2 separate regions of the Homo sapiens genome follow, and region 1 is linked to region 2. The links are contacts of gene promoters, found by promoter capture Hi-C in human tissues and cell types (Jung and others, 2019). All regions are on one chromosome and are shown on one strand. The core of a region is centred on a gene start or on the middle of the fragment in contact, and the rest is flanking DNA. Distances in the headings are between cores, read along the strand shown.

Region 1 (3,354 bases), core at 688-3,187, 570 kb before region 2:
TCCCTTTCCTGCTTCAAACCCTCATCTCTAAGTGGTGGTCCCAAACTCAGTCTCTAAGACTTATTTCAGGCTTCTTATGGGAACCCTTTTCTGACACCCCTCTGGCTGTTCCCTAACTTTTTTGACCGACCATGGTACCTGATTGTAGGTTTTTCTGTTTTCTGTCTCTGCTCACTGGACTGTGGAGAGGTCCAATGTTCCCAGACTCAACAGACACTAAGTATGTTGAGTTCATGTTAACATGCTAGAATTAAGTTTCACCTAAACTGTCACAAATATTTATAAATGTGGAGTTAACAAAACAGGTAATTTGGTGTTGTGTTAAGAACACTGGTCTGCCATCCACAAAGCCTAAAATGTTGTTTTGCTGTCAACACTTAGGAGCTATGGGGCCCTCAGTAATATGCCTTCGCCTCCATGCAACTTAATTACCCATCCGCAAAATGGAAATACTGCAGTTATGTTAGTGGTCACATAGCCTACTCTCTACCTTTTTGGAAAGGATCGCTATTTTGCCTGAAAACTTCATTCACAGTGAGGAAGCAAAAGGGAACAACTACTAATGCAATGGAGCGTAAAAAGTAAACAACTCTTTCATAATGAGTTTATTTTCCATAATTTATAGCATAGGTAACAGAATCATTTTGCAAAGACACGGACTAGAGAAGAATAAAAGAGGCAATTATGATCATTAGAGGTGGCTTCGGAGGACCACGAGACAGCACTATGGACAAACAAAATGCACTACACAACATACTCCTCCTGGGGGGCAGTCAAAACACAGAAATGTAGATCGCTCAGTCACTGAAACGGATTGACTTGGCTGTTCTAACTTCCACACCGAAAGGAAGACAGGGTGGTGATGGGGGGAGAGTGATTACTCCTCAAACAGAGAGTGATTTAACACCACCACTGGCTATGTGACAGATAAACTAATTTGCCCAAATCACTAAGCTTGGGTTTTTCCACCCACATTAATTTGGTTGCTTGCACATGACAACAGCATCATTTATTGGTGACAGGATTCAAAGACCTGGGCATTGCAGCTAGCAGGAGAACACAAACAACTCAAGGCAGGACGCTACAGCCAGTTCAGCAGCTTTTGCTCCTTCAGTGACCACAGTGCAGGGGAGCCCGTGGCTGCTTTGAGGGCTTGATGTGGTATTGAGTCAAACTAAATTTAAACCTTTTACCTAAACTGCTGGTATTCCTTCTATCCCAAATCTTTGGAAGCCATTGAAAGTGATGCAAATGTGTCTCATGGCCAAAACAGCAGCCTGGAGCCTGTGGCTGGCTGGTTTTATTTTTAGGATTATGGGAGACCTCCATCAAGGCTCTTTCTTTTACTCTGAACCTCAGTTTCCCAGATGTAGGAAGGAGAGACCACAGCAGCTTGGGGAATGGCAAAAACCTGGACTTTGTGGTCAGATAGACTAAGGTTTGAGTCTCACCTTCAGGACCTCCTGGTTATATAACCTCCAGTAAGTTACTTTACTTCTCTGAGCCTTGCTTTTCCAATCTATTGTATGGGAATAATAATAAATACCTGCTTAGTTAATTACTTCATTCATTCAACAGACATTTATTGAGTGCCTCCTATGCACCAGGCAATATCCTACCTGAATCCACAAAGGTAAGTGAAATAGACATAGTTCCTGTCCTCATGGAGCTTATGGTCCACTGTGAGAAATAAATAACAGACACAAAGTACGTAGTACTATGCCTGGCGTTTTTTTTTTGTTTTTTGTTTTTTTTTTTTTTTTTTGAGATGGAGTCTCACTCTGTTGCCCAGGATAGAGTACAGTGGCGCTATCTTGGCTTACTGCAAACTCCGCCTCCCAGGTTCAAGCAATTCCCCTCCCTCAGCCTCCCAAGTAGCTGGGATTACAGGTGCCTGCCATCATGCTTGGCTAATTTTTGTATTTTTAATAGAGATGGGGTTTCACCATGTTAGCCAGGCTGGTCTCGAACTCCTGACCTCAAGTGATCGACCCACCTCGGCCTCCCAAAGTGCTGGGATTACAGGCATGAGCCCCCATGCCTGGCCTATGCCTGGCTTTTAATAGACACTGAATACATGTTTTGAGTTAACCAGAAATTTAATTATTGAAATTCAATAGCATTTTGATATCTACTAATTCCTTTTTCAGTTATCCCACTCCTCCCTTAGAACCTGTGTACATGATGCTCTCTCTGTCTGGGTTTGTTTCTTCCCCAGCTAGTCACATGGCTCCCTCTCTCACTTCATATCTGTACTCAAACATCACCTCTTCACAGAGGCCATTCCTAACCATCTGTTCAAATAGCCCTCCTACTTCTATCACACTATATCCTCTTACCTTGCTTTAGACCCATTCTTAATGGATTTAAAAATCATTGGTGGAGCATGGTGGCTCGCGCCTGTAATCCCAGCACTTTGGGAGGCCGAGGCGGGCAGATCATCTGAGGTCAGGAGTTCAAGACCAGCCTGGCCAACATGGTAAAATCCCATCTCTATTAAAAATACAAAAATTAGCTGGGTGTGGTGGCAGATGCCTGTAATCCCAGCTACTCAGGAGGCTGAGGCAGGAGAATCGCTTGAACCTAGGAGGCAAAGGTTGCAGTGAGCCAAAATCACGTCATTGCACTCCAGCCTGGGCAACAAAAGCAAGACTCTGTCTCAAAAAAAAAAAAATTATATTCACAAAAAAATCCCTTAGAGTTAGGGCAAGTTTTTGTGCTAAAGTCTCTACAATAAAATATTATTATTATTATTATTATTTGAGATGGAATCTCACTCTGTCACCTAGGCTGGAGTGCAGTGGCGCCATCTTGGCTCACTGAAACCTCTGCCTCCCAGGTTCAAGTGATTCTCCTGCCTCAGTCTCCCAAGTAGCTGGGATTACAGGCGCACATCACCACACCTGGCTAATTTTTGTGTTTTTGGTAGAGATGGGGTTTCATCACGTTGACCAGGCTGGTCTCGAACTCCTGACCTCAGGTGATCTGCCCACCTTGGCCTCCCAAAGTGCTGGGATTACAGGTGTGAGCCACCGCACCCAGCCAAAATCATGTTTTTAAAAGAAAGATTTGAAGATACTTTACAATAAAAGATATAAGAATGCAGTAAGCACACAAAAAGATGCCCAGCATCACTAGTCATCAGGGAAATTTTCTTTTCTTCTTTCTTTCTTTCTTTTTTTTTTTTTTTTTGAGACAGTCTTGCTCTGTCACCCAGGTTGGAGTGCAGTGGCGCAATTTTGGCTCACTGCATCCTCTGCCTCCTAGGTTCAAGTGATTCTCGTGTCTCAGCCTCCCAAGTAGCTGGGACTACAGGTGTGTGCCACCATGCCTGGCTAATTTTTGTGTTTTTAG
Region 2 (3,190 bases), core at 102-2,601:
CAGAAGGGTAGGAGATGGAGAATGGGAAGGCATACCTGAAACCCTAAAGCAACTCTTGATGAGTAGGCATTGGCAGGAGGCCCCAGAACATTTTCTGACCCTCAAACACTGAGAATGCATGTCTGCTGGGGAATAGTAGTGAGGGGGCTAAGGGTATGGGGGTGTTCATGCCTGAGTCAGGGGCTCTGGATGGTAGAAATGTCTGGGAGTTCTGACGGAATGGGGGTGAGGAGGCCTAAAGATAACCTGTTCATAGTCTTTCAGGGCCTTAACCATTATGGCTGGGGAAGTGGGAAGTGCCGATGGGGTATGCAGAGGAGGGCAGCTGTGATAGTACATTTCATCCTGAAAGCACTACATGTGGATAATGACGGTAGTGATGATGCCCTAATTTTAGTGTCATGGCAACATTTTCCAAGGGGATGGAATTGGGTACCCTCATTAGTGTCATTTTTGTTTGAGAGATTTCAAGAGTCTATCTAGGTGTCATTTTAAAATCTATTGAAAAAAAATCTTGAATGCAGGTCACTGACCAGTTGGTTCCATGTAACTGCACTGCCTTCTGCTACCACTAAAGCAATGTTATGACAACCTGGACAAGTCATGGGAAACCTATGTGAGACTTAGTTTTTTCTTTTTCTTTTTGGAGTTGGGGGTCTCACTATGTTGCTCAGGCTGATCTAGAGCTCCTGGGCTCAGACAACCCTCCCGCCTCAGCATCCCCAAGTGCCGGGATTACCGATGTAAGCCACTACACCCAGCTGAGACTTAGTTTTTTCATCTGGAAATGAAGGCGACCTTTGTGATCCCAGTGGGCCCTTGCACTTGTGTATAAGGTGATTCCCAGCACTGCTCATGAAAGTAGTGATGGCAGAGTAGCCTCTGCTCTCCATTTTATTTTTGGGGTGGGGGGGGGCAGTGGTGGAGGGGAGGATGAGGATGATATTTCCATTAAATAAGTTTCCTTGTTGCTTTTCTTCAGGCACCACTGACCTCGATGGAAAAATGAAGTCCCTGGCCCAGGAAAGAGACCCAACTCTGTGGCTGTTTTGGATTAGTTTGTACAATGCCCTGCAGACCTACTCTCTCAGGAGGCTCCAAGTGACCAAATGTGACAAGAAAGTTTTTTGTCCAAGGCAGTTTGGAAGAGAAGTTGGTGACCGTCGGGATACCACAGCCGCCCCAGGACGGCCTGGTTGAGACATTCACTGGAGGGTCTGGGTGCAGCCCGCTGCCTGGCCGGTAGGCGGCGCGCACAGGCCGTGGGGCCCGGGTCTGGGCGTGCGCGCGGCTGGTAGCAGCGGGGCCGCGCACGCCAGGGTCCGGGAGCCGGGCCGGTGCCCCCGGAGCCATTTCCGGGAGGGGCGAGGCCGGCGGCTGCCGGGCCTCCAATCTCGGCGGCGGCGGCGGCAACAGGGGAGCCTGGGTCTCGCGGCCTGCGAGTCCGTCGCGTGCTGAGGGAGACGCAGGAGGTGGAGCCGGCCGGGTGCTCGAGGGAAGGAGACTGGAAGCTGGTTCCGGCGTGAGGAGGTGGAGGGGCCGCCGCGGGCTCCGGGGGGCGGTGAGGGTCGGGACGGAGGCGCCGCGGGGTGAGGAGAGGACAGGGGCCGGGTGGGCCGAGGGCGGGCAGAGGCGGCGGGGCGGCTGCGGCCGGGGCGGGGGCGGGGGCGGGCTGAAGGCGTGGGCACCAGCCGCTGAGGTCCAAGCAAGTGGACGGCGGGCGGGCGCGGGGCCGCGGTGGGGCGGGTCTGGAGCCCACGCCTGCCGCGGGGTAGGCATGGGCGGCCAGGATTTGCTGGTCCTCCGACGGGAGGGGTGACAACGAGAGCGAGGCCGTGCTGATTCTGAAGGGAGTGCGGAGGAGGCAGGACCCTGGTAGCCTCGGCACCTTCAGCCCGGGTTAGGTGGCCTGGGCTGGGCTCCCCACCCCGATCGCGCGCAGACGGGGCGTTTCCCCTAGTTTCCACCTGGGTGGAATGCTTTGTGGGAGTCTGGGTCTGGATTAGTTTCATCAGCTGTGGGAGGGAAACCTAGTTGCAGCAGGATTTTGATTCGCTGGTCTGGGGTGCTAGGGGTGGACTGTGATATCTGGGAATGAAATCTGAGCCTTCAAAGGAGGGAGAGAACCATAACTTGGCTGCTCTGGCGAATCTAGGCGGGCTGGCGAGACAGTTTAAAGCTCTAGAAGTAAACAAACCTGGTTCCCTTTTACAGAGTCTGAAAAAGGGGAGCGCGGAGAGGAGGCTGGAAGAGGAAGATGCCTAGCACAGACCTTCTGATGTTGGTGAGCCTTTTGCAGACATCCTCCTGGTTCCAAGGCATTTGTCTCCGTTTTTTTAGTCCAAAGGATCCCAGTGTGTAGATTTCACCTCTGATGCTTGCTTTTGGTAGCTGAGCGTTTTGCCACCTTTTATTTTGTTTTGTTTTGTTTTGTTTTTTTGGAGACGGAGTCTCACTCTGTTGCCCAGACTGGGGTGCAGTGGCATGATCTCGGCTCACCGCCACCTCTGCCTCCTGGGTTCAAGCGATTCTCCTGCCTCAGCCTCCTGAGTAGCTGGGATTACAGGCGCACGCCACCACGCCCGGCTAATTTTTGTATTTTTAGTAGAGACGGGGTTCTCCATGTTGGCCAGGCTGGCCTTGAACTCCTGACCTGTGGTGATCCACCCGCCTTGGCCTCCCGAAGTGCTGGGATTCCAGGCGTGAGCCACCGCGCCTGGCCAACCACCTTTTATTTTGGATGAATGATCAGGATGAATAAATAGCTGAATTAAATACATCAATACAGTATATGTAGAACTTAAATTATTGAAGAATCTTTTTCAAAATTATTATTATTTTTTTTAAATGAGACAAGGTCTTGCTATGTTCCTCAGACCGGAGTGCAGTGGCTATTTACAGGCATAATCATAGCTCACTGTAGCCTGGAACTCCCACTTCAAGTGATCCTCTTGCTTCAGCCTCTGGAGTAGCTAGGACTAGGAGCACAGGTCACCTCTCCTGGCTTTCTTTTTCATAATTCTTGCAGTTTTAATCCCTCCCTTCCCGTACTACCAGAGCAGTTTTGAAACCTCTATTATTACGTTTTATCAGGGTCTGCCATATACTAGTTTATCTGAGTGTTTGTCTTCCAGATTAGAGTTATGGTTCCTCGACAGGCAGATAATCATGTCTTCTTTGTTTAGAGATG

What was found. The method cuts DNA at HindIII sites, captures the fragments that hold promoters and counts their contacts. A contact is called where the count stands out against the background at its distance.
Region 1: a contact is called between a fragment that was not itself captured here and the fragment with the promoter of SGPL1 in region 2, in 1 of the 25 tissues and cell types used here (spleen).

What each region holds. Positions count from the first base shown.
Region 1 is chr10:70,246,739-70,250,092 of GRCh38, forward strand. NPFFR1 (neuropeptide FF receptor 1) reads right to left here. Exons shown (of 4, transcript NM_022146.5): 4 at 591-3,354. Among named protein-coding and RNA genes, the nearest start is that of PPA1, 15 kb to the left of the region's middle. The HindIII fragment of the contact is 9,104 bases long and covers 1-3,354 here.
Region 2 is chr10:70,814,597-70,817,786 of GRCh38, forward strand. It overlaps SGPL1 (sphingosine-1-phosphate lyase 1), which reads left to right and starts at 1,352. Exons shown (of 15, transcript NM_003901.4): 1 at 1,352-1,530; 2 at 2,215-2,284. The coding sequence starts at 2,258. RefSeq lists silencers at 1,148-1,467, 1,488-1,577, 1,658-1,767. The HindIII fragment of the contact is 13,423 bases long and covers 1-3,190 here.